Linked DNA regions of Homo sapiens: regions 2, 3, 4, 5 and 6 are each linked to region 1. The links are contacts of gene promoters, found by promoter capture Hi-C in blood cells and fetal thymus (Javierre and others, 2016). All regions are on one chromosome and are shown on one strand. The core of a region is centred on a gene start or on the middle of the fragment in contact, and the rest is flanking DNA. Distances in the headings are between cores, read along the strand shown.

Evidence for each region. The method cuts DNA at HindIII sites, captures the fragments that hold promoters and counts their contacts. A CHiCAGO score of 5 or more calls a contact.
Region 2: a contact is called between a fragment that was not itself captured here and the fragment with the promoter of FCHSD1 in region 1, in 1 of 17 cell types (activated CD4 T cells). The highest score is 5.2, in activated CD4 T cells.
Region 3: a contact is called between a fragment that was not itself captured here and the fragment with the promoter of FCHSD1 in region 1, in 1 of 17 cell types (megakaryocytes). The highest score is 5.9, in megakaryocytes.
Region 4: a contact is called between a fragment that was not itself captured here and the fragment with the promoter of FCHSD1 in region 1, in 3 of 17 cell types (total B cells, naive B cells and fetal thymus). The highest score is 5.6, in total B cells.
Region 5: a fragment that was not itself captured here is called in contact with the fragment with the promoter of FCHSD1 in region 1 in 6 of 17 cell types (erythroblasts, neutrophils, monocytes and 3 more); the score reaches 6.6 in erythroblasts.
Region 6: a contact is called between the fragment with the promoter of DELE1 here and the fragment with the promoter of FCHSD1 in region 1, in 12 of 17 cell types (neutrophils, total CD8 T cells, naive CD4 T cells and 9 more). The highest score is 10.9, in neutrophils.

Annotation. Positions count from the first base shown.
Region 1 is chr5:141,648,820-141,653,754 of GRCh38, forward strand. It overlaps FCHSD1 (FCH and double SH3 domains 1), which reads right to left and starts at 2,599. Exons shown (of 20, transcript NM_033449.3): 1 at 2,529-2,599; 2 at 2,201-2,298; 3 at 1,540-1,585; 4 at 1,068-1,135; 5 at 576-717; 6 at 353-489; 7 at 138-201. The coding sequence starts at 2,549. ARAP3 (ArfGAP with RhoGAP domain, ankyrin repeat and PH domain 3) reads right to left here. Exons shown (of 33, transcript NM_022481.6): 33 at 4,583-4,935. RefSeq lists an enhancer at 621-1,199. The HindIII fragment of the contact is 983 bases long and covers 2,273-3,255 here.
Region 2 is chr5:142,149,639-142,154,573 of GRCh38, forward strand. It overlaps NDFIP1 (Nedd4 family interacting protein 1), which reads left to right. Exons shown (of 8, transcript NM_030571.4): 8 at 2,093-4,802. It overlaps LOC107986455 (a long non-coding RNA gene), which reads right to left. Exons shown (of 3, transcript XR_001742907.3): 3 at 4,773-4,935. Among named protein-coding and RNA genes, the nearest start is that of NDFIP1, 43 kb to the left of the region's middle. The HindIII fragment of the contact is 1,139 bases long and covers 1,655-2,793 here.
Region 3 is chr5:142,132,967-142,137,901 of GRCh38, forward strand. It overlaps NDFIP1 (Nedd4 family interacting protein 1), which reads left to right. Exons shown (of 8, transcript NM_030571.4): 4 at 2,764-2,851; 5 at 4,768-4,892. Among named protein-coding and RNA genes, the nearest start is that of NDFIP1, 27 kb to the left of the region's middle. The HindIII fragment of the contact is 2,185 bases long and covers 810-2,994 here.
Region 4 is chr5:142,104,791-142,109,725 of GRCh38, forward strand. It overlaps NDFIP1 (Nedd4 family interacting protein 1), which reads left to right and starts at 3,989. Exons shown (of 8, transcript NM_030571.4): 1 at 3,989-4,247. The coding sequence starts at 4,185. RefSeq lists an enhancer at 3,740-4,241 and silencers at 3,819-4,088, 4,149-4,278, 4,349-4,418. The HindIII fragment of the contact is 172 bases long and covers 2,740-2,911 here.
Region 5 is chr5:141,940,831-141,945,765 of GRCh38, forward strand. PCDH12 (protocadherin 12) reads right to left here. Exons shown (of 4, transcript NM_016580.4): 4 at 2,751-4,935. The coding sequence ends at 4,551. DELE1 (DAP3 binding cell death enhancer 1) reads left to right here. Exons shown (of 12, transcript NM_014773.5): 12 at 1-1,217. Among named protein-coding and RNA genes, the nearest start is that of PCDH12, 15 kb to the right of the region's middle. The HindIII fragment of the contact is 7,155 bases long and covers 1-4,935 here.
Region 6 is chr5:141,921,676-141,926,610 of GRCh38, forward strand. DELE1 (DAP3 binding cell death enhancer 1) reads left to right here and starts at 2,196. Exons shown (of 12, transcript NM_014773.5): 1 at 2,196-2,297; 2 at 2,906-3,020; 3 at 3,735-3,852. The coding sequence starts at 2,267. RefSeq lists an enhancer at 2,077-2,590. The HindIII fragment of the contact is 14,517 bases long and covers 1-4,935 here.

The sequences.
Region 1 (4,935 bases), core at 1,349-3,848:
AACCAAGGTTACCCACCCAGGAAGTAGGAGAGCCTGGATTCAACCCAGTCTTTCATACATATGCACCTATGTTCCAAACCACTAGACTACTCTGCCTCCCTCTTCCCTGCCCCCACTCATGCCCTCATCCCTCGAACCTTGGTGCTCAGTTTCTGGAGACTGGTCCGAGAGTGGAAGATCCCATGGTCACTTCGGTTTAGCCTGTGCAGATGAGAGAAAGGAGTCAGGCCCACCCCAAGTGGGAGAATATGAGATCAGAGTCAGGCCCAGCTTTGGTGACTTGGCTCCACCCCTAGACAGCCCCACCTCCCTGTTCCCCAACCTTGGGCTTCCTCACTCTCCATGACCCCACCTGGCCTGGACATCAGCCGCCTTCTCCTGTGCCAAGGCCCACACACGTTCCCGCTGCCCATACAGCTTCCGACTTCGGCTCAGCTCCCGGACAGACTGCAGCACCTCAGCCTGCGCCCTCTGGAGGTTCTCTGTTCCCTATTGGGATGCATACACAAAGTCCTTACCTAGACCACCTTTGGTCCCAAGCCAGCTCTTCCTTCACCCCAACCTCTGAGCCATACCTTCCTAAGCACCTGCTCCTTGGCGCTCCGCCCTGTACCCCCTGCTAGGTCACGGTATCGGTCAGACGCCTGGAGTCGGGTTTGGCCCCCAGCCACGGTGGCATCCAGCAGGCAGCGCCAGGCACCGAACACTGTCCTGCCCCTCCCCAGAGAAGGTCTGTGTTGAGGAGGAGAGCACTCCACAGCTTCATGAGACCACCCCCACCCCCTGCCCCCTGACCAACACCATGGGAGACAGAGTGCTTTCCCATCCTCCCTTGTCTGGGAGCCCATCAATCGATCAGCCCATTAGCTCAGCCACAAGCCTCACTCCTGCCCTCCACCCCACCCACAGTGTCCTTGCTGGGTCAGCTCCTCTGCTGCTGCTGTGTCAGCTCTACCTACAGCTCACGTGCCTTCCCCACTTGCTAGGCCTTCATCCCCACAGGTTCCTGGGGCTGAGCTCCCCATCACTTTTTGGCCTCTGTGGCCCTCCCCCTCCATAGGGCCCACCTGCTGTCCATCTCACCGCTCCGGTGCCCTTCCCTCTTCAGGAATGGGCCAGCCAGTTTCTGGAGTGCCTGGTGAAAAAGCCATCACAGAACCAAGTTCCCTTTCAAAGACCCACCCCAACTGGCAGAATATGACATCAGAGTATAATCATACCATTCTTTGGGTACATTATGTGCCACTTGCTTTGCTAAATGCCTTATAGTCATTAATTTGTTTAATCCTTACAACAACCCTACATGAAGGTAAGGTATTATTATTATTCCCATTTCACAGAGAAAGAAACTGAGGTCAAGAAAGGTTAAGTAACTTGTCCAAGGTCACATGGCTATAATTACACAGCAGGGATCTGACACCAGTCTGCTTGACTCTAGGCATCTGCTCTTGACCACAATAGGGATAGGTATGGACAGACATTACTGGTGATATAAGAGAGGCTGGAACAAGAGGTAAGGTCCAGAGAAAAGTCCCATACCTGCCCATACTCCCGTTCAATGGCTGCCCTCTGCTTGCTGTAGGATCTGCGGAGATTGCAGGTCGGGGGTGAGGTGGGGGATAAGGTTATGTTTGGTCCTGTTCTCCCATCCTCAGTCCTCTACTCTGGGCAGGAGGGAGCGGTTGGGGGGAGCCAGGTTCCTAGAGTGTAACTACACCCAGAGGGAATGGGACTGATGGGAGTCCTTGAGATCACCTCGGGCAGCTGCAACACAGGAAACCCTCACCTTACTGCCCCGGGCCCCAGCAGGATCCTCCCCACCCCAGAGGTTCATCTGTAGGCTTAGAGGTGAAGACTGATGGGGGCCTGGGTACGATGTCTGCCAGCCTTCCAACAGGTCTGGAAGAGGGAGAGGGATTCTGCCCTAAGGTTGATTGTGGGGTTGGGGGCAGTGGTGTGGAGTCAAGGGCTTTGAGGGAGGGTTCCTGTGTGTTTATGTGGGTGGGAGGGGGTTGGGAGGGGTTAGGTGGGGGAGCATTCCTATCCAGTATCTGGAGAGGCCAGGCCTAGGGTGAGGGCTGTGGATGGGTCGGCTGGGGAGCTCTTGGCCCCTGTTCCTCCACCCCAGCACATGTATATTGGGGAGAAGTGGCGCACAACGACGAAGGTGAGTGTAAATGAAGGGGGTTGGGGGAGCTACCTGATGTCCTCCAGCAGATCCGCCTCCCTCTGCTGCCAGGTCTGAAGGATGCTCAGCTGTTCCAGGAAGCGAAGCTTCACCTCCTGGGCCGGCTTCACCTGTGGGGGCAAAGAGAGGATGAAGACCCCAGCGCAAGGACCTAAAAAACACTCCGCGCAGGGAGCGGTGAGGGGGCGGGGCCGGGGGGGTGCTGAGCTCTTTCCTCTGTTACTTCTGGTTTGGGGTCTGACCCCTTCCGACTTCCCGTCTCCTACCACAAGTCGGATGCCCCCTTAGCTCCCTCCGTTCCCCCAGCCCGCCAGGAGTCCCCATTCAGGGCCAAGCTCACTTTTCGGGGCGGCGGCTGCATCTCCGCTCCAGCAAGGCGGTCAGCCACTGGACTCCGGAACTGGAGGAAGCCCCGCCCACTATGGAGCCCCGCCCCAGGCCAGGTCAGGCCCCGCCCTCTGCCCGCCCACGACTTGTCCGGCGACGTCGCAGGGCGCGGAAGCGAGAGGGGGCCACCGAGAAACTAAACCTGTTACTGCTGCGAATACGCCGGCAGGGTCCGGGTGGCGGGGCGGGCGGGGCGGACGCAGCGTCCGCTGGGCGGTGGGAAGAACCCCAGGCATCTGAGTCAAGACGCCTAAGTTCTATTTGTAGTGTAACCACTGATTCAGCCTGTAATTATTGATAATTATTCATTTGCATATGTAGATCCCCAGTCCCCGAGCTAATGATGAGGAATGGAGAGGAATTCAGTGTGTGACCAGGGAAACTGAGTCACTGGGCACCTGAGCAAAGATGCATCTGACGAAGAGAGGGCTGGTCCCAGACCTTTTCCTAATTCCCGCTTAACTGGAAAAGCCAGCGTGAGCGGGGTGAGAAAGATGCCTGGATCCAGGAAGGAACCAGGCCCAAAGGGAAAAAGACTTGGCCCCACTGAAAACTAAACGATACCAGTGAGTCGGCGAGAGCTGGGAGATGCGCAGGAAGCCCCTGCCACCTTTAGGATCTTCCAGCCCTAGCACTGCTTCCTGAGGAGCCTCTCCCCAATTCCTCATCCTCCTCACCTAAGCTTCTTTGGCTCAGGCACCTGTCCCAGTACCCCTGACATGTCTCAAAACTCCAGATTCACATTCCAACTCCCCACTGACACCTCTGCTAGTATATCTAATAGGAACCTCAACTTTTAAAGCTTTTAAACCTCCTTCAACCTGATCCTCCCCCCGTAACGTTTTAAATGGCACCGCATTTCCTCCAGTCAGTTAAGTCAGAAACCCAGAGTCAATGTGCCTTCTCCTACCCCTACATTCTATCCATCAGTAAGTCCTACAGGTTCTATTTCAAACAACAATAAACAAACAAAAACCTCTTGATCCACTTCCCTCAATTTCCAAGACCACCATCCTAGTCCAAGCCCCCATTATTAGACTTCTGGTCTAATATCTGATCTCCTTGCTTCCACACTGCCCTCACCCCAACCCACTGTTCACACAGCACTCAGAGTGATCAACCTTTTTTTTCTTTTTTAAAGGGAAATAAGATCTCATAATTTACTTGCTTAAAATGCACTTGCTTCAGAATAAAATCCAAATAGAATCCATGGCCTTCAAGGCTACGCATGGAAGACCCTGCTGGTCTTTCTTACTTCAGCCTGTACTCTCCTCCCACTGTCTGCTCACTGTGCTCCAGCCTCTTTGCTGTTCCCTCAGTAGACCAAGTCCCTTCCAATGCAGAGTTCTTCATGCCTGCTTTCTTTCTCCAGAATCTCCTCCTTCCAGCGTTCCATCTGTCGCCTCCAACAGCTTCTTTCCCTTACTTTGCAACTCTTCACAGATGCCTTCCCCATCCACCCATCCAAAGACCATCTCCACAATCACTCTTTTTTTTTTGAGATGGAGTCTTGCTCTGTTGCCAGGCTGGAGTGCAATGGTGCAATCTCGGCTCACTGCAACCTCCACCTACCAGGTTCAAGTGATTCTTCTGCTTCAGCCTCCCGAGTAGCTGGGATTACAAGCACGTGCCACCACAACCAGCTAATTTTGTATTTTTAGTAGAGACAGGGTTTCACCATCTTTGCCAGGATGGTCTCAAACTCCTGACCTCAGGTAATCCATCCCCCTCAGCCTCCCAAAGTGCTGGGATTACAGGTGTGAGCCACTGCGCCTGGCCTCCACAATCACTCTTCAAGCTCATCACTTTGGTTCAGTTTCTTCACAGCACTAAACTCACTTGTTCAAGTACTGGTTTATGTGTTTATTTGCTATTTTCTGTTCCCCTCCACAACGGAGGATTCATAAGAGCAGGGGCCCTGTTTGTTTTGTTCATGCTATATCCCCAGACCTGGCACCAATTAGGTGCACAATACATATTTGTTGAATGAATGAATGAGAATGGTAGTCTTTTGGTTCCCAGGTTTATTGACAATTACTCATCTATTTTTGACTCCCCGAGTCCCAGCTCCCAAACTCGCTCTCCCTACTCCAGGCTTCACGGTAGTCCCAGAATGTAGGAAGTGGGACAGGATAGACTTTAACATCACCCAGGCCTCTGGTTTCCAAAGCATTTTTTTTCTTTAATGCAGTAAAACCATTCCTTTAAAACCCAAAATCTCTCATGGAACCCCTACGTATCAAATATATAAAGCAGGAGCTGCCCTTGTTCAGGGATAATATGTGGGGCTTATGGCTCTAAGAAACACAGTTTGACATTCACTGCTCTCCTTACTTCAGTTACCTCATGGTATAGATAAA
Region 2 (4,935 bases), core at 974-3,473, 500 kb after region 1:
TGACCTCTCTAGGTCCTCTTGAGATATTTTATTTTAATTTAATTTTTACTTCTCTTACTGAACAAGCAAAGGGATTTTTAATGTTTGTTGGGTGTCAGGCTTTGACTTTGAGGGATCTATTAAAGCTGTTTACCTATGCTAAAGCATCATAAACTAAGGAAGTGGCCAGGTAATTGTCCGTACCATATTGTATATTCTTGCAAACTCTGTTTTGACCTACTAGTCACTGTTTCATCAGTTTTCATCTATTAAAAGAAACTGGGCCAGGCATGGTGGCTCACGCCTGTAATCCCAGCACTTTGGGAAGCCAAGGCGGGCAGATCACGAGGTCAGGAGATCAAGACCATCCTGGCTAACACAGTGAAACCCCGTCTCTACTAAAAATACAAAAAATCAGCTGGGTGTGGTGGCGGGCGCCTGTAGTCCCAGCTACTCGGGAGGCTGAGGCAGGAGAACAGCATGAACCCGGGGGGCGGAGCTTGCAGTGAGCCGAAATTGTGCCACTGCACTCCAGCCTGGGTGATAGAGCGGGACTCCGTCTCAAAAAAAAAAAAAAAAAAAATATATAGAAACTGATAAAACAAATTATTTATGTTTATAATGAGTCTGGCCTCATTGCAAAAACATTCATTTAATATTCATCTGCCAATTTTCTTTTTTGCTTCTGCTTGGCTTTTAGAGTTCCTCATATTTTTGTGTCTCTGTCTCTGTGCTTTCCGAGGTCTTTCAATCTCTTATGTCTCTCAATCTAAAGAAAAGATGTCCTTGTATCAGTTTCAGTGGTTTACTTCAAATCACAACACAAATGAATTTATAGTTTGGAAAAATGTTGATAATATTAAAATATGTTCATTTCCTCCAGTGTGTTTGTAGTCTCTCTCCATTTTGGCAGCCTTTTAAATACTTACGCAGTAATCTAATCAGAAAAGATACAGAAGACACCGGGCATAGTGGTGCACGCCTGTTAGTGCCAGTCACTTGCGGGGCTGAGGCAGAAGGTTGGCTTGAGCCCTGGAGGTGTAGGTTGCAGTGAGCCGAGCTCGCGCCACTGCACTCCAGCCTGAGTGACAGACTCTTGTCTCCAAAAAAAAAAAAAAGAAAAGAAAAGAAAGAAAAGACATAGAAGAGTTTCTTGTGGCTTTTATAGTAATTTGGAGGATAGAAAAGTAAGTTATAGGCCGATATTTGAGCCCATCCAACTCTCACTTCTTGCTGAGTACCACAAAATAGTTTCTCAATAAATGTTTATTAAGCAGTAAATGTATCTCTTTAGTGTTTCTTCTTTTATTCTTAATAGTTCTTCTTTTATTGTTAATATAGGGAATTACTTGTAGTTTTTCCCAAGTTATTTTCATGAGAACCAAAACAATATACTAGTACAGAAATGCCTCAAAGTATTAGATGAAAACTGCATTTAGTAAAATGCGTAGGCATTATTTCGAGAGCATTTATTTCAGTCAGATATATTCCTTTCTTAAAATTTAGTTTGAAAGTACATGTATTATTTTAAGAGAAACATGCCCCAAATACAATGACTTTTTAGGAAAACTTGTTTTTTAAAAGTATTTGTGGTACCTGTGAGTTTATCCTTGTTTTCTAATTTTGCCATGCTCGGTTGAGGTATAGCATGACATGGTTGGCATCCTTACTGGAAAGCTTCCTTGTGCAATATCTAGTGGAATTGTTAGGGTAAACAGTATCTTCAGGTATATTAGGAAAATTACTTGTGCACTTGGATTATGCTCTCTGTCCCAAGTTTCAGTCATTGCTGACAGCGTTCAGTGTGGGATGCGCAGTAGCACTGCTTCCATTGTATTCTTTTGTTAAGAGGTTTGGAAAGAGAGACTCCTGACTTCAGGAGTTTTTAGAAAAAGCATTCCAGTTTTTTCTAGTTCTAGAGGCCTTGATAACTTTAAGAACTGAAATTTTAATGTTTATTGAATACCGTGATGTCAGTATACAGTAATCTTAAAACTATGTTAAAATGCACTTGTGTCTCCAAACATCCTGCCTTCTTTTGTGACTACATCCTTCTCTTAGCCAAAATAACAAGCTAACTAGAGTTTCAATATTCAATATCCTTCTCTGGCAGATGTTTTCTGGCAAAGGCCTTCCTGCATTTATGAATTCTCTCTCAAGAAGCAAGAGAACACCTGCAGGAAGTGAATCAAGATGCAGAACACAGAGGAATAATCACCTGCTTTAAAAAAATAAAGTACTGTTGAAAAGATCATTTCTCTCTATTTGTTCCTAGGTGTAAAATTTTAATAGTTAATGCAGAATTCTGTAATCATTGAATCATTAGTGGTTAATGTTTGAAAAAGCTCTTGCAATCAAGTCTGTGATGTATTAATAATGCCTTATATATTGTTTGTAGTCATTTTAAGTAGCATGAGCCATGTCCCTGTAGTCGGTAGGGGGCAGTCTTGCTTTATTCATCCTCCATCTCAAAATGAACTTGGAATTAAATATTGTAAGATATGTATAATGCTGGCCATTTTAAAGGGGTTTTCTCAAAAGTTAAACTTTTGCTATGACTGTGTTTTTGCACATAATCCATATTTGCTGTTCAAGTTAATCTAGAAATTTATTCAATTCTGTATGAACACCTGGAAGCAAAATCATAGTGCAAAAATACATTTAAGGTGTGGTCAAAAATAAGTCTTTAATTGGTAAATAATAAGCATTAATTTTTTATAGCCTGTATTCACAATTCTGCGGTACCTTATTGTACCTAAGGGATTCTAAAGGTGTTGTCACTGTATAAAACAGAAAGCACTAGGATACAAATGAAGCTTAATTACTAAAATGTAATTCTTGACACTCTTTCTATAATTAGCGTTCTTCACCCCCACCCCCACCCCCACCCCCCTTATTTTCCTTTTGTCTCCTGGTGATTAGGCCAAAGTCTGGGAGTAAGGAGAGGATTAGGTACTTAGGAGCAAAGAAAGAAGTAGCTTGGAACTTTTGAGATGATCCCTAACATACTGTACTACTTGCTTTTACAATGTGTTAGCAGAAACCAGTGGGTTATAATGTAGAATGATGTGCTTTCTGCCCAAGTGGTAATTCATCTTGGTTTGCTATGTTAAAACTGTAAATACAACAGAACATTAATAAATATCTCTTGTGTAGCACCTTTTACTGTAGATTAGTGCTTAATTTCTTGGCTTGCATTTGTTGATTGCTAAGGCAATTTTTTCTAATCTTAGGGAATCATTCAGTAGATGCGATTAAAAAACTAATGTTGGGTCAATTTTTTTCTTCATTTTCAGCACAAGAAGTCCTCTTATATCCTACTAAATACATTCCTAAAAATGTATTTGAACATTGGTTCTGTAAAAGATAATGGACTAAAAAAGTAGAGAGGAGTTGTAGAGATCTTAAATCATTCTGGAATTCCTAATTATGCTTCAATTTTTAGACATAATTTTAGATAATTTATTTCCAGTGTTTTCTGCATGTTCTCATTTGTTCTTTTTCTCAGTTGAATGCACCAACTGGTTTGAGTCCTGTGAGCATTCAGTCAGTTGAAATTAAAGATTCCTCATTTCTCCTGATTTCTATTCTTGTCTCAATCTTAAATTTAGAGACCAGTTGTTTTTATGATATCAGCCATTTGATTTTTTTCATTTTCTATTTAAGAAATATGAAGAAAAAATACACCAAGATGGTCAAATTACTACACAAATCAGCACCAGCACAGTCTGATAGCTGCAAATGTCCATTCATCTGCTGTGTATGTATATCCAGAATCAGCATAGGAAGTCGTTCAGGATATCAGTATATAATGCACAGAAGTGTGGGTTGTTTGAAAGCCAAACAGGAAAATTAGGAGCCTCCTGGATTGACATTTCAATGATCCCTCTAACCAGTTTATGGATTATTATGAATAATAGTGTAGTGTGTTCTTTTTCAGAAGTTATATTTGATAATAGAGAAGGGAGTTTTATGGAAGTTTCTTTGAAGATTTTTTTTTTTCCATTTCGAATCAGATTATAGCAACAATGGAGTTTGGAAGTTTGTATGGCCTATAATGTTCTAAGTTCCAGAATGAAAAGATCTGTAACAATCTGAATAGATGTGGACACATATAGCAGAGAGAACTATGTAAATTATCTTGCAGAACAAAATAGAAGGGTCCTAAATCACGTTAACTCAAACATTGTAGACTAGCTTTGTGTTTATTCTTCAGGTCCTTGCGCCTTATTTGGTTTTGTATATTCAACGAACTGAAATATTTGGAATTCCTATTTCTACGTATTTGGTGGTCCATAAGACTTTGTCAAATGTAAACCTACAGTTTGATACGCTTTAAAATACCTAGTTAAGAGGATGATTTCTCTTTAATCGTTTAAATGTTCTGAAAATTAAAATCTTTTGAGGCACATGAAGTGGGCACCATATATCATCTAGAGTCCTTACTGGTATTCAGGATGAAAATGTTCACGCTGCATTAATTGTCATTTTTCTCTCCCATGTTCTTTCTCACTTTGATACGTTAATACTGATAATGGATAAAGAGTGAGTTTTTATAATAAATGGTTTTGGAAAGGTATTCATAGGAACCGCGGTTATTTACTTAAGGTTATGGAGTAAACTAGCTTGGACCTTGGGCTGCAGGACGACTAGGATTCACCCATAACGACACAGTGCCCTATGTTTCTTAACTTCTTGTTGCCATTTGAAACTCTGTACTCTTATGTTTAAAGGGTTCTGTATAGCCATTTTTTTTTTCAGAAAGTTACATTGCTTTGTATAGAAATAAAAGGCATTATTAAAATTTGCTTGTTAAAAAATGATAAGAATGAATATCTTTACTTATAGGGTCAATTTTGTTTAGAGTTTTAAAGAAACAACAGAAGTTTTAGTGAAGTAAATGATTTTTTTTTTCCCTTTGCTTTCTTATTACATACTGACTTGAGCTCTGGCCCA
Region 3 (4,935 bases), core at 652-3,151, 480 kb after region 1:
GAAGGTAGGGCATTGTGGGAGAATGGAAGCAGGATAAGTCCCCAGAAATGCGGGGACCATCAGGCCTCTAGGCTCTATTCTAGCAAGTAACTGGAGTGAGTGATGAGCAAGTACAGAAGCCTAGTCTGGGCAGTGTGATGGCATAGGCCCAGATGTTCCCCTCTTGGCTTTAAGATAGTAGACAGTTTGCAGACCACACCTACTGTGAGGAGCGAAGCTCCTAAAATCATTGCTTGGTAGAAATAGTTTATGAGCCCAATCTAGGATGATCCTAAATGGCGATGATGTGCATTCAGTTCTTACAGGTACCAGGGAGAAACTAAAAACCCTAGTGTCTAAGGGCAAGACCATCATAATGTAACTGCCGTATATTGGAAGCAAACCACATGCTTGGTACTGTGCTTGATGCTTTTATATATTTTGTATATTGTTTCCAATCTTCATAGTAACCTTGAAAGGTAGAGATTATATTATCTCCATTTTACAGATGTGAAAATTTAGGTCCAGAGAGAAAAAGTAATTTTCCCAAAGTCATATGACTGATAAGTAGCAGAAGTGAAAGTCAAACCCAGATATTCTAGAATCCAAAGTCCTTGTTTGTTTCACTGTACTCTGCAGATCTGTTGCAATATATGGTAAATAGATCAGTATGGAAATTAGCTCTGATTAATCACATAACTCTTCAGAATACTTTCATTTGATACAAGTACATATTTAGGAACTTCTTAAAGGGCTCTAGTATTCAGCAGACATGTATAAAGCACTTTTTAAATATAAGATGCAGTATATTTTACAGTGGATAGGTAAAAAGCTTTGTATAAGGCAGTGTTCCTCATTGTTATTCAAAAGCCTAAAATCCAACTAGGGTAAAGGGCCCACAAATACTGATAACTAAGACACATAAGAGCAGTGGGCATCAAGAACTGAAACTTTTTACTGGGTGATCATAGGGGAAAATGAGATTTGATGTGGGCCCGGAGTTTTGATGGGTAAGAACATTCCAGAGGGAAAAAGGCACAGAAAGCAGGTGTGAATTCAGCCAGGTGAAGGCAGTTCTGTGGATGTAGTAATTGGCTTTGTATGAGCAAGAGTTTGTGAAGGGAGATAGAAAGTCCTGACTACAACTGTTGTTTATAGAATCTTTGGAATGTTAGATGGGCGTATTTAAACTTCATATGTAGCTTTTAGAGAATCCTTCAGAGTTTTTGAGCAGGGGTATGAGAGGACTTGTGTGGTGTTTTGGAAACATTAACTTGGCAGCAATTTCTAGGATGCATCATGGTAGAAGAGATACCAAGAGGACAGGAAGAACAGTTAGAAGGTGTTCGTAATATTATTAGATGTTACTTCCATATATTTTTTGGAGTATATCTTTGAATAGTTATGCAAAAAACAATTAGCTTTTAATTTTGGCAAAACCTTATTCTGCTGATACGAAGTAAGAATACTAGGTATTTAATGTTTTAAAAAATTAATTATAAAAATTCGTTTTTATAGAAATTTCAAACAATAGAGGAAGTATGTTAAGTTAGAAAAGGAAGCTGCCATTGCCACCGACTTCCCTTTCTCTAGTTCCCACTCCCCAGGGGAACCACTGTTAACAATTTGGGTCTTCCAGACCCTTTTCTGTGTACAACAAGTTTTGATATTCCCTAAAATATTTTTCATTTAAGGAGCCCTCATTGAACTGTGTACAAATCTATCACTTTTAAGTATATATTCAATTATTTTTAAATATCTCAACACACACCTATATCAGTTAAAAAGATAGCCCACATGTGTTGGTATTGTTCATGATCATGTTATTTCTAGTTTTGCAATATTACGTTATCAAGTTAGGATGGAAAAGATCTTATCTGCTGATAAGGTTAGAAGTGAGATTTAGATCTGTATACCAATACAAATACATGCTTATGGAGTTGAGCAGTGGGCAGTTCTGTGGACTATTCATGTATGATCGTACTATTCTTTTTTCCCCTATATCAGCCTCGTAAAGCACTTGAGCTGGTTGATTTTATCTTTTTTTTTTTGAGACGGAGTCTCACTCTGTTGCCCAGGCTGGAGTGCAGTGGTGGGATCTTGGCTCACTGCAAGCTCTGCCTCCCGGGTTCATGCCATTCTCCTGCCTTAGCCTCCCGAGTAGCTGGGACTACAGGTGCCCGCCACCACTCCCGGCTAATTTTTTTGTATTTTTAGTAGAGACGGGTTTCACCATGTTAGCCAGGATGGTCTCGATCTCCTGACCTCGTGATCTGCCTGCCTTGGCCTCCCAAAGTGCTGGGATTACAGGCATGAGCCACTGCACCTGGCTGATTTTATCTCTAATTACTAATATTTTAGGTCCTAAACAGGTCCTCGATTACTGATATTCTAGAATTTAAACCAAATGTGTAAGTAAATTTTGTCTTTTGTCTTTTCTTGAGGTATATTTTTTTAAAGGAAGAGTAAATAGTTCTTTGTGAACTATTCTTGAAGTGTATTGTTTTTGAAGTGTATTAAATTTTTGAAGTGTATTGTTAAAGAACTTGGGTTATAAGATGAAAATTTCATTTAGAACACTGGGGATAGAAGAAAGATTTGCTTCTTTTCTAATTATATATTAATAATGCAAAATGGAATTTTAAACACACATTGAGCCTTTAATGCTCATAATTTTGAACTGAACCAAAGCAATAACTTTTTTCCTTGCTACTCAAATTTAACCCTTCATTTTTCTTTATGTCTTCCCTTTGCCTAGAAATAATTCTTTTTCTTTTCATTTAGGATGAGGATTTTGTGGGTCGGGATGATTTTGATGATGCTGACCAGCTGAGGATAGGAAATGATGGGATTTTCATGTTAACTTTTTTCAGTAAGTATGTATGCATATCAGAACCACCCCCTACAAACTAGAGTGCTTTGGATTATGGGTGAATCTGACTGAATTAAAATAACTAGTTGAGCTAATATATTAATACATTATGTTTATTTGGTGCCTTTTACTGGAATATTCAAAGCTTAATATACCTTTGTTTTAATATCCCTTCTCTTTGCCTTCTATTTTCATGAATATCTGTGGAAAATATAATTAAAGCAGTTATGAGGATGCTGCATTTTTACATGAGCTAAGCCTCATCTTCCAGGTCTACGGGGCCCTTTTGCGTTGCTTCTACTCATACTTAATCTGTAGAATAGGAATTAAATGCCTTTGATGAATTTTGCTCTGAAAGCTTCTTTTTTCTGACAGATCAAAGTCAGCCTGATTTTCTCCCTTCATGTTACTTGCCATTTATCTTTTTGTGTGCCTCACATAGAAGTGAGCAACCATTTCCTTTATTTGTTGTATTAGAAAGATAAGAAAATGCAATGCTTTTAGAGGTGATGTTATATAAGTTGTCAAAATTCAGAGAACAGGAGGATGAGTGACTTGAATCAGATTATTTGGGGGCACTTATTTAATGTTGAAGGCATTTATTTTATTTACTGGACTATATATATATAACACACACAGTAAAAAGCAGAGGTCAGGCTGGGCATGGTGGCTCATGCCTATAATCCCAGCACTTTGGGAGGCCGAGGCAGGCAGATGCCCTGAGGTCAGGAGTTCGAGACCAGCCTGGCCACCATGGTGAAACCCCATCTCTACTAAAAATACAAAAATTAGCTGGGTGTGGTGGCAGGCACCTGTAATCCCAGCTACTCAGGAGGCTGAGGCAGGAGAATCGATTGAACCCGGGAGGCAGAGGTTGCCGTGAGGTGAGATCGCACCATTGCACTCTAGCCTGGGGGACAAGAGTGAGACTTCGTCTCAAAAAAAAAAAAAAAAAAAGAGGTCAAAGGCTGGGCACAGTGGCTCATGCCTGTAATCCCAGCACTTTGGAAGGCTGAGGTGGGCGAATCACCTGGGGCTAGAGGTTCAAGACCAACCTGGCCAACATGGAGAAACCCCATCTCTACTAAAAACAAAAATTAGCCGTTAGCCGGGCCTGGCGGTGCACGCCTATAGTCCCAGCCACTCGGGAGGCTGAGGCAGGAGAATCACTTGAACCTGGGAGGCAGAGATTGCAGTGAGCCAAGGTCGTGCTACTGCACTCCAGCCTGGGTGACAGAGTGAGACTCAGTCTCAAAAAAAAAAAAAAAAAAAAAAGCAGAGGTTGTAAGTATACAGTTTGGTGAATGTTAAGGTTTGCTTTTTGCTGTTTTTTGTTTTTTTTGCTTTTTCCTTTTGAGACAAGGTCTTGCTCTGTTGCCCAGGCTGAATTTGGAGTGCAGTGGTGTGATCACTTCTCAGTGTACCCTTGACTTCCTGGGCTCAAGTGATCCCCCCACCTCAGCCTCCCAAGTAGCTGGGACTTGCAGGTGTGCACCACTGTGCCCGGCTTTTGTTTGTTTGTTTGTTTGTTTTGTTTTTTTCAGTTTTTGTAGAGATGGGTCTCACTGTGGTGCTCAGGCTGGTCTCAAACTGCTGGGCTCGGGATCCTCCAACGTTGGCCTCCCAAAGTGCTAGGATTACAGATGTGAGCTATTGTGCTCAGCCTATTAAGGCGTTTTTGAAAGTGACTAGCAGTAGACATAAGTGTGTAAAACCTGATAGGGAGGAGTTTTTCTTGTTTGCTTTTTGGGGAAAGACAGAAGAATGGATGTTTTAGAGGAGGTATGGTGACGGTTGTGGAGGACAGGCTGTCTTTTATCCTTTGGAAAGTCATTTAAACAGAGGCAGGTGTAAGGCACTCTTGTTCTTGGGTAACAGGACATGTCTAACATCTTTCCCCTCCTCTGCTTTTGCAGTGGCATTCCTCTTTAACTGGATTGGGTTTTTCCTGTCTTTTTGCCTGACCACTTCAGCTGCAGGAAGGTATGGGGCCATTTCAGGATTTGGTCTCTCTCTAATTAAATGGATCCTGATTGTCAGGGTAAGTTGTATAACAGAAAAGATGGGCTCTACAGAGAGGCAAT
Region 4 (4,935 bases), core at 1,576-4,075, 460 kb after region 1:
TGCTCATTTTGCCTTTAAAACCTTTGCCTTCCTTTCCCTCTCTGGGTACATCCATGGCCCTTCATGAGGTGCATACATATCCCAGATTGCAATCTTGAGGATTCACAAATAAACTCACTGTCTTTGGAGAATCTCTCTGTTGTTATTTCAGGTTGACAACTTTCTCTCTTCCCATGACAGCAAAGCCCTTTTATTTCTTTCTGTTTTTTTTTTTTAGATGAAGTTTCACTCTTGTTGCCCAGGCTGGAGTGCAATGGCGCGATCTCGGCTCACTGCAACCTCCGCCTCTCAGGTTCAAGTGATTCTCCTGCCTTAGCCTCCCAAGTAGCTGGGATTACAGGCATGTACCACCACGCCCGGCTAAGTTTTTTGTATTTTTAGTAGAGATGGGGTTTCTCCATGATGGTCAGGCTGGTCTCCAACTCCCAACCTCAGGTGATCCTCCCGCCTCGGCCTCCCAAAGTGCTGGGATTACAGGCGTGAGCCACCACACCTGGCCAACAAAGCCCTTTTCTCGTTCAAAACCCTTTCTTCCCAATCCTTACCTGATTATCCCAGCTGGCCACATAATTCTCTTCACTATCTCTCAGCATTAGTTAATATAGCTCAACACAGTTGTAAATAACTTGTAAGTTTTATATTTTAAAAATGTCTCAAATAAGTGTTTACTATCATCTCTATTTCATCATGAAGACTCCAAAGGTTAGAACTTTCTATCTCCTGTCTATTTATGTCCCGTATTTCTCTCCACACCCAAAGCAGTGCATACATTTTGGAGCCAGACAAATCCCAGTTTGCGTTTCGACTCCACCGCTCACAAAGCTGAGTAGGTTATGTAAATTTCCTGAGTCTCTTCAAGAATCTGCAGAATGGGTTTGTTATGAAGATTAAGCAGATGATGTACCATCAGGTCCAAGATTCTGGAAGTGCTCCATAACAGTAGTAATTATCAGTGGATAATTTCTTTATTTGTAATATGAAGATATTACCTTTTGCTCTTAATGAACCTTGTGGTAATGTAGTGAGAATTAAAAGAAGTAGTAAGTCATAGAAATAAAACTTCATGGTTTAATTGGAGCCCTGTGAAGACTAGCTGGAGAAGTTCAAGGCCTCAAATGAGATATTAGACTAATGAGGCTTTTGTCTAAATTTAACACATTTAACAAACCCTTCTTGGTTACTTACTGAGCTCTGCACTACCTAGGTCAAGCCTCATGTGGATATGAAAGACAGAAGGTCACATTTATCCTAGAGATTTGTATCTATATTGCAGGGGGAAAGGGATACGGACATGAGTTATGCTTATACTTGTCCATGTTTCTTTTCTCTCTCAGGAGGGATGATTCAGAGTCAGCAATTCACATATGCAGTACTGCACATGGAAAGTATTACTGTTATTCTGTGGGGAAATAAGTTTCTAAGTGCAGCAATCTGAAATTAATAACTTTCTCTGTGGAAACTCTCTTGACAACATCTCGAGATGAAGCCAAAGAGCACAATTTTTATGGCTTTGGATTATCTTCTCTGTCTGCTTGGCTTGCACCAGGCATGGATCTGTGAGCCAGAAATTCAGTTTTCCCCTTCGTTGTACAATTTGCCTGCCAGCTGGAGGCCTAATATAGCAGTGACTCAATTTCTCAATTCTCCAATTTATCCACCCATCAAATCAAGGCAAATAATCTCAATTTACTTATTAGAGGCTTTGGGGAACTCAAGAAAAAAAAGACCAAAATCTTTACCGTGACTACAAAACATTTTGGTTGAGGACATAGGAAAAGGAGATTAGAAGTTGGAGATCAATTTTCTTTTACTTTCAATGCAAAATATTTCTATGATAAAGCCTGTTATTTATATTATGATAAATATTTGTGTCCACATGCAGGGAGTATATAGATATTGAGGGAGAAAGTAATTTAGGAAAGAAATAGAAGGGTAGCAACATCTTTTCCACAAAAGCCACAGCACTGCAGACATGCATAAAGATTGCAGTTGTTGCTCCAATAGCCTTATGTGGTAGGCCGACAAATTCTTTTTTCTTTTTCTTTTTTTTTTTCAGAGATTGTGTCTCACTATGTTGCCCAGGTTGGTCTCGAACTCCTGGCTCCTGGGCTCACGTGATCCTCGAGTCTCAGGCTCTCAAAGTGCTGAGATTACAGATGTGAGCCACTGTGCCCAGTGGACATTCTTTTTTATTCTTTCTTACACGTAAATGTAGACAATCTGGACAAAGAAGTCTGGATTTCTACTTTCCACTGCTGACATTTTAAAAAATTTCAAATTAGATTTTTGCACCCTTTATACAAGACTACATGGCAGGACATTATGTTTGATTCACTGTACCTGATTACATTTAAATGTTGTTTTTCTGGATTATAAACAACAACTGAGGGACAGAGTAAGGAGGCTCTAAATAGACTTGAGAGCTTGGAATGTTGCTACATTTGTTCGCTCTCCCAGCATGTTAATATGTGAGACTAATACTTGGAAATAGCGACAGATATAGAGGAGTTTGGATGCTGAGAGAGAACTCAAAGTGAAGATGGTAAACATCTAGAGTTTTTATTGATTACAATTTTCTCATATATACAGAAACCTCAGGGTGTGTTCTAAACACAGTTCTCTTTTAAAATACATAATTAACTAAACTTCAAAATTAGAAGCTAAGACAATAATCATATTAATATAACCTCTACACTGCCAACTTGGAAAGGCAATGAAGAAGAAATGGGAATTGCAACAAGCTTCAGAGATGGAAGATTTTGTTTTTCTCTGTAGGACATGTGGGTAGAAGCAATTGCAGATGGCTGGGTGTGAAAGAAACAGACCTTGCAAGCCTGCTATATAGCTATACTGTGCTACATGGCATTGGGAGGTAATAAGATTTAAAAGACAAATACTCTTGTCTTCACAAAGCTTATAATTTAGTTGTGCAATACTGGGTAAGAAAGCTGGCTTAATGGAGTTGTATTCCAGCTTCACCCCTTAGTAGCTCTGTGTCATTGGGTGAGATATTTAATTTCTTTGGGCATAACTTCCTCATCTGTGAAACACTGATAATTGTATCTCCTATATGGCAGCTATGCCAGCCTCCTTTCTGTTCTTCCACAAGACAATCTCTCTCTGGACCGCCCTTTGCACCTGTTCCTGTGGTCGGGAAAGCCTTTAGCATGGCCAAACCCTTCAAGTTTTGACTTCATGTCACCGAGTCAGGGAGCTTTTTTGGAAAATATTGTTTCCGATTCCGCAGATGAGGCTGTTAAAATACTAAAGGATGGCATAAACATGAGGATGCTATTATAATCATCCACCCTAAGTAGGATTTGAGATCCAAGCAGTTCTCAAGGATTTAGGGTTAGCAAACTTTTTCTGTAAAATGTCAGATAGCAAGTATTATAGGGTTTGCAGGCCATACCAAACAAATGGGTGCTGCTGTGTTCCAATAAAACTTTATTTATGGACACTGAAACTTGAATTTCATGTACTTTTCACAGTCATGGTGGCAGACCGGATTTGGCCCCCTCCCTGTCGCTGGCTGACCCCTGGTTTATGAGTACGGCAGATAAAAGAAGGGAGTGAATAAGAACCACGATTCTGCTGCCAGACACGAGGGATCAGGTCGCTGCTGTGAAGATTGTCAACCTCTCTGGTTGCCAACGACCTCGAGAATGGGGTTGTGGTCCCTGCGTCAGGGCGGTTGTGCTGAAGGCTGGATGAGGGCACGTAGGTGAAGCTCAGTGCTTGGCACGAGGTGCTCATCAGCAGCATCGCCCTTGCTTTGGGCTGGCCTGTTAGTAATTCGTTTTTAGTGGAATCGAATACAACACTTGAGCCTCGGAGGCTCAGGTCGTCGGAGCAACTACACCAGGGCCGGTGCACCTCGGGGCGGCGGCGCAGGACTAGGCTAGGCCGGGCCGGGCCGGGCAGGGCGGCGCGAGTCGGGGGTGGGGCGGCGGCGCAGCGCCGTCGTCGTAGTCCCCGCCTCTTCCCCAGGGGCCGCGTCGGAGCCTCGGCGGCGGCGGCGGTGCTTACAGCCTGAGAAGAGCGTCTCGCCCGGGAGCGGCGGCGGCCATCGAGACCCACCCAAGGCGCGTCCCCCTCGGCCTCCCAGCGCTCCCAAGCCGCAGCGGCCGCGCCCCTTCAGCTAGCTCGCTCGCTCGCTCTGCTTCCCTGCTGCCGGCTGCGCCATGGCGTTGGCGTTGGCGGCGCTGGCGGCGGTCGAGCCGGCCTGCGGCAGCCGGTACCAGCAGGTAAGCGGCGCCCGACTCCAGCCCCGAACTCCGGTCCCTGGCTCTGCCCTGCCCGCTGGCCGCCTCAGGCCTCTCTGGCCGGCCCGCGGCCAACTCGACGCCGGGGCTTGGCAGGCCGCGCTGGGCCTGGAGGGGCGGGTCGGGCCCCGGGCTCGGATTCGAGGCTGCCACGGGCCCGGCCTGCCCGTCTGCGACCCCAGGTGGGACTCCGGCGGTGGAAAGTCCTCCTCCCGGCCTCGTTTCCCGCATTTCCCAGGGCGGGCGGGTCCCTGAGTCAGAACCCGCGACCCACAGGCGGCATCGATCTGAGGCATTCGTTTTTCATTTTTCCACCTTTGGTTTGATGTCATTGGAAAAGAAAGAAAGAAAAAAGCATGAAACGGAAACTGGGTGGAGAGAAAAGATTAAAATCTCTGCTGCTGCCGATAGCTCCCCACAGCAAGATGCTATTGCTCAGGGTTTCAGAGCCTAGTTTGTCGAAACCCATCCCCCTCGCCTCCGTTTTAAGACAAAAGTAAAAAATGAAGCAAGAGACAAGCCCGCAGTTTGCAGTAGATTTGGAAGAGGCGATGTTTGGCTGTGGTGATGCCCCAAAAGGGAGAGCTACGATGAAGTCTGCAGGGCGTGTGCCGGGTGTATTTTAAATGCTTGGAAGTGACGTTTTAAGAGATTTGATGGCATAGCTGGG
Region 5 (4,935 bases), core at 1,766-4,265, 290 kb after region 1:
TTAAGCTGTGCAGTGCACTAAGCTCTCTGCCAAAAAACAAACAAAAAAAGGTTTCTGTGGTTAAATAAGTTTGGGAAATGCTGCACCAGACGTCCCCTTTTTATAGATTCACAATACACATCAGCATATTTGAGGTTCCAAGAAGTCCTCCAGTAAAGAACTTGGTTAACCCAATGTTTTCTCTCACTGAATTGAGCCCAGAGCCCGTTTCCCTACAGATTGCTTTTGAGCCTTCCTGGGGCACCCTCTGCGTGAAATGTCACCGTGTGCCCTCCCTGTGGAGCCCCACTCCCCAGCCTCCTCCCCTCTGTGGTCATTTTGGATTTTCTGACTACTTCCTTCTAGCCATAGCTGGGGCCGAGGGCTGGTTCACAGTCTGGCCACTGGGCGTCCTGTGGTGAAGGCCAGATGCAGCCCTCCCTGAGTGGCTCTCCCTCCCACTCAGTCACTACTGAGCTAAGTACTGATTCAATTTGGGGTGCCAAAGGTTGGGGGTAGGATATTTTTAAGCTCTCCAATTTAAAAAGGAAGGGCCTCTCCTGTGGAAAGGGAAGGATGGCAGAGTCGTGAGAAAGGTGTTGTCAAGGGACCAAAAATCCTTGGCTGTTCAGTCACTGCGGTCTTGATCCAGCCCCAGGGGGATGGGCTTCACTGGCAGAGCTGGGTACTGCTGTGCTTTTGCCATTAAAATTCTGTTATTAATGACTCATCATCAGTGCCCCAGAGGAAGTGTGAGAGGACGAGAGGGAGGTGGCTCCCATCAGCAGGGCCAGCCTGGGTCAGGATGCTGGGTTAAAGCCCGGCGCCCTCACCAATGAGACCTTTGTGGGAAGCTCTACTGCCTCAGTTTCCCTATCCGGAGATGCTGTTTTCAGGGAGTCCTGACACTATGATGGGAACAAGGCTATTTGGTTTACTATATCATTAGTGCTAATATAGTGTGGGGCACTCAGATGTTCAGTAAATATACATTCAACAAATAAGTGAGTGATTATACTCAACTCCCCCCACCCAATGCCCAGCACCAAGCCTACCCAGCACATAGTAGGTACTTTAAGTAATTTGAATGAATAATTTTAAATAACTTGAATGAATAATTCTGTATTGCCCCCCACTCGCCGCCTATACACACGCACACACGCACACACACACACACGGTTTCCTGTGCTACTTCTGGCACTTAGTAATTATTCAATAAACACAAAATGTTTGTTGCATGAGTGTTTCTGATCATGTCCTACTCCTCCCACGTTGTACCCAAAATTTAGTAGGAGCTAGAAAATGCTTATCTATTTTCTAGGTACACACTATGTGCCAGGCCAAGCCTCTCCTTCCTCCTGTCCTCTCTTTTTTGGGATTTGGTTCTCTCCAGAGTTTCAAAGGTAGTGGTTGCCACATCACTCTTATTTCAGCCAGAGAAGAGGCAGCGTCAGTGAGCTGCCAAACTGAAGTTGGGTGACAGACAAGGCAGCTGCCTGTCAATCTCTGAGCTGCCTCCAGGCTCTGAGTGAGCACTGCATTGCACTCCTGGTGCTGGAGAACGGCTGACTATTGATTTAAAAAATGTCCCTCTATGCTTTCCAAATTAGGACGACATGTAACAGTGCTTGCTGGCTCGCCTGCTCCCTCAGTCTCCCAGGGGACAGAGCCCATCTTGGTGGAAACTGTTTTGAGCGTGTCCAAAGTCTCAGCTTTGACATCTTGGCTGATGTCAAGAAATTTCTGTAACCTTCCTGTTCAACACACCCAGTTCTGTTACCATAGACACGGTCTCACTCTGAGCTGTTATTGGGAAAGGTGCTGGTATCAGCTCATCAGGAGGGGACACATGGTGCAGGAGAGAACACTGTCCCTCACGTACATACACCCCCATTCTGATCAAAGTTCAGAACAGGAGCAGCTCTACGCAGGAGTTCTCCAGGTTCTGCAGGGAAGGCAGGGCTGAGGGCTGACCTAGAGGATTGTAGTGCTTTCTAATCTTAATTGGGCCCGAAATCTCTTTGAGAATCTGATCTAAGCACCTACTTCTTTCCATAGAAAAAATGCATATCCTCCCAATTTTGCATGTAGTTCAGTAGGTTCATAGATCCTGAAGTCTAACCAAAGACGTCAGATTAAGAATCCTTGATGTATTAAAAAGACCACCATACTAAATCCCAGATCCAAATCCTGATTTGAGCAAGCACTCAGTTAAATGTCTTAATTTGGAAAGCTCTCCCCCACAAACCTGCCAGGTGGCCTTGGGCAAGTCATCTGCCGTTTCTTTCTATATTCTTGGCTATAAAATGAAGAGTTGAAATAGATAAAGTTCAGACTCTTTATGACAACTGCCCATGTCTGTGGATGTTTAGATAGTATCTTAAAGCAATGCTGTGTAACCTTTTAAAGGTCAAGGTTTCCTTTGAGAATCTGATGAGAATTTTGTATCTTCTGCCTAAAAAAGTGTCTAGACACAAAGTTTTACCTAGTATTCAGGGTGCCCAAGGAGTACAGATTTAGGGCTTTTGAACTAGAATGATGCAATGGTCCCATGTGTCTAGTGATCCAGTTGCCAGCTATAGCTCCAGCTTCCTCAGGTCATCTCCCCCTGCCCACTCTCTTCTCTCCACCCTCCCAACATCTGCTCTGCACTGAAAATCTGCTGGTAACTGGGAGGTCACCATGGTCTACTCCAGTACTGTGGTTCTCAGACTTTGCTTTTACATCACAGAGTCTTTTTTTCTAATGAAGTCCTACCTGGAGCTCCAATATGGATAAAAGGGGCCTCTGAAGCATTTATTGACACATTTATTCATTCATACATCCATTCAACAGCTATTCATCAAGTGTTGCTTTGTAGCAGGCACCTGGCTGGTCAGGCTGGAGACCCTGCCTGCCTGCTTGATATCCCCCAGTTTCTCTCACTGGCCCACAGAACCCAACAGTTCTGTGATCCAGCCTGAAAATCACAGATTCTGTAAGGAGATCACTCTGGCCTAGAGTGAGGTGAGGAGAAACTCTGCCCCTGAAACTCATAACTTTGGGGAGCCTCATTTTCTTCATCTGTAAAATGGAATAATGATACCACACTGTATTCCAAGTATGTATGATGCACATTATCCCTAGTTGGGAGTATGATTGGCCCATTTCTTGAACAGTGAACATGAGCACTGAGCTCCAAGAAAGGACAAAAAGAGGAGCAGATAGAGGAACTTTTGCCTGCAGTGTCCAGGAGAGACCCACACTATTTAGAAGCTAGCTGATTGGCTGCTCGGAAATTTCCAAGAAAATTATAAAGCTGAACCTTGGGAAAATATCTGCTGTTTCTTCCCTCCCCCATCCCCTGGAAGGCTGGCTGCTGTCAGTGCCGATTTCATAGACCCAGTTCACACAGCGTCCTCTGGGATTCACAAGCCTGAACCTGCAATGACAGAGGAAGGTTTACCCGCAAATGGGGTTGGGAAAGATGACATCCGCACTTGAAGAGCTACTTGTTGGGAAAGAACGGGTCTGCATCAGTTCAGATCCAAGTTCCTTTTGCCTTGTGCTTGGGAATGTAGAGAGGTGCGGGCCTGGATGGCTTTGGAAATGTTCCTTTCAACAGTGTTTCCCGAGGGAGCTCGAGCAAGTTCACTGCTGCCAACAGCTCACCTCCAGGGCCTTCCCTTCTCCTGTCTTTGGTTGGCAGGCTGGTGTCAAGGTTGAAGGCATGGGTTTTGGTGTTGGCCCAGCCTGGGTCCAAATCCTGGCTCTGGCTCTACTCCCTGCTTGATCTTGGGAAAGCCACTTGACCTCTCCAAGCCCCATATCCGTGTCTGTGAAATGGGGTTAATAATACCTCCCTCCCAGGATTGTTGGAAAATCAAATTAAATCCTATTGTAAAGCCTGGTGCCTGGCTCATGTAAATGCTTTATAAATAGTTGTGCTTTCTTAGCTCTAATTTTGCAGCTGAGAAGCAGATTAGTTGGTAACATAGTGATAGGGGAACAGGGGTAAGAGCACACATGTCTGCTATTTGTGTACCTGTTACTGTGTACCAAGGTGCCCCACTCCTGTCCAGGCCCAGTGTGACGGTCTTGCCAGGGATTGGATGACAAATAAACCCCACTCTATTACTCTTCCCTTCTCCCTCTTGACAGGTGCAAACAGGAGAATGAATCACTGCTTTTCCTTTATTGATAGGTCAGAGAGCATTTCCTGGCACCCCCAGGGTACAGCCCCCTGACTCCTGCTACCCAAGAAGGCCACCCTTTCCTGCCTGTGATACTCCGTGGCATCTGTTCTGCCAGAGGACTGACCCTTTGTGCTCCACATATGTTTTGCCAGGAAACACTTATCTCAGCCACAAACCGTCCCTGTCCTCCAAAAGACTCAGAGCTGCTTACAAGGGGCTGCTTTGGTCAGTCAGCTGTTAGTCCTGGGGCTCTTGCCTCCTCTGTGGGGGTAGCATCAGTCACCCTAAAGTTCTCAGGCCGCCGCTAGCTAGTGAGTTACAAGATTTTAGAAACCAGCTCTTGTCCACAGATCCTCAGGCCCCTGGTTCTTGGATCCAGAGGCGTCTGAGGTATGTTCACAGGCACCTGCTGCTGCTGCTGCTGCCTCTGCTCTTGCCCTCAGTCCCCGTCTTTCCACCTGGGTCCCCTTGCACTTTCATGCCTGAGGCTGCACTGGTGGCCAAGTCTAAACTGAGGGTCCTCCCGCAGACCGAGAGCCGCCGCAGCGCCTCGGAGGCGGCCTCCACGGGCATGCTGGAGCGCTGTTCCAGCAGCATCTCCAGCAGTGAGCTCATCTCCGAGACAAAGGTGCTGGCCAGCCTCGTGCCTGTTGGGCTCAGCTCTGGTGCCTCTGCCTTGCCGAACGTCTGGAAGGTCCTTGGCTCCTCCGTGGCTGCAGCATCCGGGGAGATCACATTGTCACGGTAGTTGGTGGTGAGGGGCAAAGAGAGTCTCGCCATC
Region 6 (4,935 bases), core at 946-3,445, 270 kb after region 1:
GCCGTCCCAAATCCCGAAGCAAGGCTATTTCTGAATAGTTGTCCAACATTCAAACTTCTGGGCCTTTATTTATTGTTTCCTCCGCTTGCAATGCCTTTCTTCCTTCTCCACCTGGCAAGCTCTTATTCACATTTAAAGGCCCCGCTCAAATGCAACTACTTTTCTGAAGCCTTCCAAGGGATCCCACAATCCATTGTTCATGCTTCTATGGGAACCTAACCTATTACACTTGCCTGCTTACCTCCCCTACTAATATAATTAATAGCAACTTACACTTACTGGGCTTTTACTATGTGCCAGGAACTATGCTAAACATTTTTATTTATTTATTTTTTATTTTTTGAAGGGTATTCCCAAAACACCAAGTTAAACATTTTTAACATATTATTTTATTTAAACCTCACAACAATTGCATGAGGTATTTTCCCTATTTTACGGATGAAGCTCTTGAGACTTAGTGTGGTTAAGGAACCTGCACAAGATAACATACCTACGAAGTAAGCAAGCTGTGATTCCAACCCAGATTTGTGGGACTCCAAAGCCCACTACTAATCCACTGGACCGTGTTCCTGGAGGCCACAAATGCTCTTTCCTCAGCTGTCTTCTCAGATCCTAGAACGGGCTGATATATGGCTCAAAAGTTCTTTAACGGCCAGGCACGGTGGCTCAAGCCTGTAATCCCAGCACTTTGGAAGGCCAAGGCAGGAGGATCACCTGAGGTCCAGGAGTTCGAGACCAACCTGGCCAACATGGTGAAACCCTGTCTCTACTAAAAATACAAAAATTAGCAGGATGTGGTAGCAGGCGCCTGTAATCTCAGCTACTTGGGAGGCTGAGGCAAGAGAATCGCTTGAACCTGGGAGGCAGAGGTTGCAGTGAGCCGAGATCACACCATTGCACTCCAGCCTGGGCGACAGAGAATCCGTCTCAAAAGAAAAAAAAAAGTTGTCTAACATATTAATACAACTTTCAAGCCACATGCCTCGGTCTAAAAGTAGGTGCCCCCAGTACACTTTTACCCCAGGTAGCAACTTCCACTCACCTTAAAGTCACATACCTGGAGGAAGGGGATAGGGAGGAAATCTAAACATCTTATACTTGAATGTAAGCTCCGTTATTTCACGGATTCAAATGTGGTGAAAGGAACTATTTTTTTTTCCTTTTTTTTTTGAGATGGAGTCTCACTCTGTCGCCCAGGCGCGATCTCGGCTCACTGCAACCTCCCGTCTCCCGTGTTCAAGCAATTCTCCTGCCTCAGCCTCCAGAGTAGCTAGGATTACAGGCGCCCACCACCACGCGCAACTGATTTTTGTATTTTTAGTAGAGACAGGGTTTCACCATGTTGGCCAGGCTGGTCTCAAACTCCTGACCTCAGGTGATCCGCCCGCCTCGGCCTCCCAGAGTGCTGGGATTACAGGCGTGAGCCACCGGGACCAGACGGAACTATTCTTTTCCACAAAAGAACAAACACATACATAACTTTTGCCACGTCTGAAGACGAGGGTTCTAATAGGGCGCGGGTGGTGTCTCAGGTATTTTGAAAGGAGCTACCCAAGAATCTCAGCTTGTCAGGCCAGTCATTCCATTTGACCCTATCTGGCGCGTATTGGGGCCCCGACAAGGTAAGGGGTTGGCATGAAGCTGCACAGTGAGATAAAGCTGGACCGGAGCTAGAACCCAGAATCAAAGCCTTGCCCTGTGCGGTTTCTCATCGCCTACGCAGTCGGGCCCTGGCCTGGCATCTCCAGGCAGGTGGCCTTGGACGGAAGCCCGGCCTACTGGCTTCATTTGTGGGACCCCGGGGGTCCTCTCCTCCGCCCATGGAGCCTGGTTACTCCCACTTCCTCAAGCCTAGGGCCTGGAGAAGCCTTTCCTGGTTCGCGGCCTCACGGTCTGCAAGGTCCTCTTACTTCCCTGAAGCCGCTCCAGCCCCACTTCCCGAAGGTCCCGCTTCCGGGTGGCTCGCTTCGCCACCTGCGGTCCCCTGCCTCGGCTTGGGAACGCCAAGGACATCCCCCACGGAAGCCTGGGCCCACATCCCCATGCCCTTGCCGCACGTCACCGCCCCGCTGGCCCCGAATACGCCTCCGCCCTGCACTTCCTCTCTGCAGCGCCGTCTTTCCGGCCGGGCTCCCTTCTAATTGGCCAGCTCAGAGCTTCCTCGGGTACTCGGCCACTCGGGGCATCGCGGCGGCCTTTCTAGCCGCTGTCCCAAGGGTTGGTCTCGCGCTTTCGGCTGCGAGCTCTCTGTGGTGCTGGCAGCGACATGTGGCGCCTCCCGGGACTCCTGGGCCGAGGTAAGGGACGTCCAAGCAACCAGCGTCACTCTGGGCCGCAAAGACCGAACTGGAGTGGGGGCGGGCCCGAGGAAACAGCCGAAGCGATCGTGGGCCGGGTTAGAGCCAAGGAAGGCGGGGCTTGAAAGAGGGCGGGGAAGTCAGGGGCTGCTGGAATTTGAGATGTGGATGGGCCTAGCTAGAAGAGGGTGGAGTCCAAGAAGTTGGTAGGACTGTTGGGAGGGGGAGGAGTCCAATGGCAGGAGATGGTGGACTGAATGAATGAAAGAGGATTAGGGGCCAATGGAGTAGGCATAGCCAGTGAAGAGAGGAGAGGTTTAGAGTCAAAGAGCCCCAAACATTAGTGAGAGTATATGTATGAACGTTTGGTCATCTTAGAACAGTGGTTGGCATCCACAGGAGACCAGCAGAATCACATGGGCGCTTTTAAAAAACGTGGATGCTCTACCCTGAGAAATCTTAGTTTATTGGTTCTGGGGTACTACCCTAGAATCTGTAGTAGATAAAAGATTCCCATGTGTATCCATGTTTAAGAACCTCTGCTGAGGCAGATGACAGTGATTCCTGGGTTCTTGTTGAGGTGCCTGAGTTTTGGTTGTTCTGTACAGCTCTTCCCCGTACACTGGGACCTAGCCTCTGGAGGGTGACTCCTAAGTCCACCAGCCCAGATGGGCCTCAGACTACCTCCTCCACTTTGCTGGTTCCTGTGCCTAACCTCGACAGGTAAGATACTGCCATTTTACCACTCATTTCCTCCCCTAGTCACCCTTTTTTTTTATTTTTTTTTTTTTGTTGTTTTTTGAGATGGAGTCTCATTCTGTCGCCCAGGCTGGAGTGCAGTGGGGCAATCTCAGCTCACTGCAACCTCCGCCTCCCAGGTTCAAGCAGTTCTCTGCCTCAGCCTCCCGAGTAGCTGGGATTACAGGCACCCGTCACCACACCCTGCTAATTTTTATTTTATTTTATTTTTTTTGAGACAGAGTCTCGCTCTGTCGCCCAGGCTGGAGTGCAGTGGCGCGATCTTGGCTCACTGAAACCTCCGCCTCCTGGGTTCAAGCGATTCTGCTGCCTCAGCCTCCCAAGTAGCTGGGATTTCAGGCATGCACCATCACGCCTGGCTAATTTTTTTTGTATTTTTAGTAGAGACGGGGTTTCACCATGTTAGCCAGGATGGTCTTGATCTCCTGATCTCATGATCTGCCCGCCTCAGCCTCCCAAAGTGCTGGGATTACAGTGTGAGCCACTGTACCCAGCCAATTTTTATATTTTTAGTAGAGATGGGGTTTCACCATCTTGACCAGGCTGGTCTTGAACTCCTGACCTCGTGATCCACCCACCTCAGCCTCCCAAATTGTTGGGATTACAGGTGTGAGCCACCGCACCCAGTCCCTGGTCTCCCTTTGCCCCTACTTGATAGCCTCTTATTTCATCATCTAGGTCAGGTCCCCATGGCCCAGGCACGAGCGGGGGTCCAAGGTCCCATGGATGGAAGGATGCCTTCCAATGGATGTCTTCCCGTGTCTCCCCGAACACCCTATGGGATGCCATATCTTGGGTAAGGCTTCCCCAGCCTGGTCCTTGACCTTCAGTGTAGATGAGAATGATCCTTCATGGGTATACAGCCGAACCTGGAACAAGGGCTAGGGAATCACTGTGTCCATTTAACAAGTAACCCATGGTATTGGAGCATATTCAAGGAGATATTGCCACTTTCCACACCCCCGCCATGTATGTTTTCCTCATTTAATTCAGTAAACATTTATGTAACACCTTGTCTGGGCCAGGCATTTTTGCTAGTCACTACGGACATAGCAGAGAACAAGATAGATACATTCTTGCCTTCATGGATCTTACAATAAATAATAATACATTGCATCTTTTTTTTATTATTCATTTTTTTTATTTTTAAATTATTATTTTTTTCTGAGACAGAGTCTTTCTCTGTCGCCCAGGCTGAAGTGCAGCGGCATGATCTTGGCTCACTGCAACCTCCGTCTCCCGGGTTCAAGCAATTCTCCTGCTTCAGCCTCCCAAGTAGCTGGGATTACAGGCACGTGCCACCACGCCTGGATAATTTTTGTGTTTTTAGTAGAGACGGGGTTTCACCATTTTGGCCAGGATGGTCTCGAACTCCTGATCTCGTGACCCACCCACCGCGGCCTCCCAAAGTGCTGGGATTACAGCTGTGAGCCACCGCGCCCGGCCTTATAGCATTATTTATTAATGTAAAGTATTATACATGCATTATCTTGTGTAATCCTTACAAAAATCTTACAAGGGAAATATCACCTTCATTTTACAGCTGAGGAATCTCAGGCTCTGAAATATTAGGTAACATGCGTAGGGTCTCATACCTGTTAAGTGGAGGAGCCAGATTTAACTCTGGAGTTCATGTTCTACTGCTTGGTTGCTGCATCAAATACAGAGCCTAGCCCGTAATAGTTGCTCAAAAATATTTGTTGAACCTGATCTATAAGGTCAGATTCTTACTAGTGAACACTAGGTCTCATAGGGCAGAGTCTTCGCTTTTCAGGCAATGTTCCAGGTGGAAGTTCTGCTTATAAGATCTTCTGAATGAAGTTGACACACACATCACTCTCATGTTTGTCACAGCTCATCCCTGCTGCTTTCGTGCTGT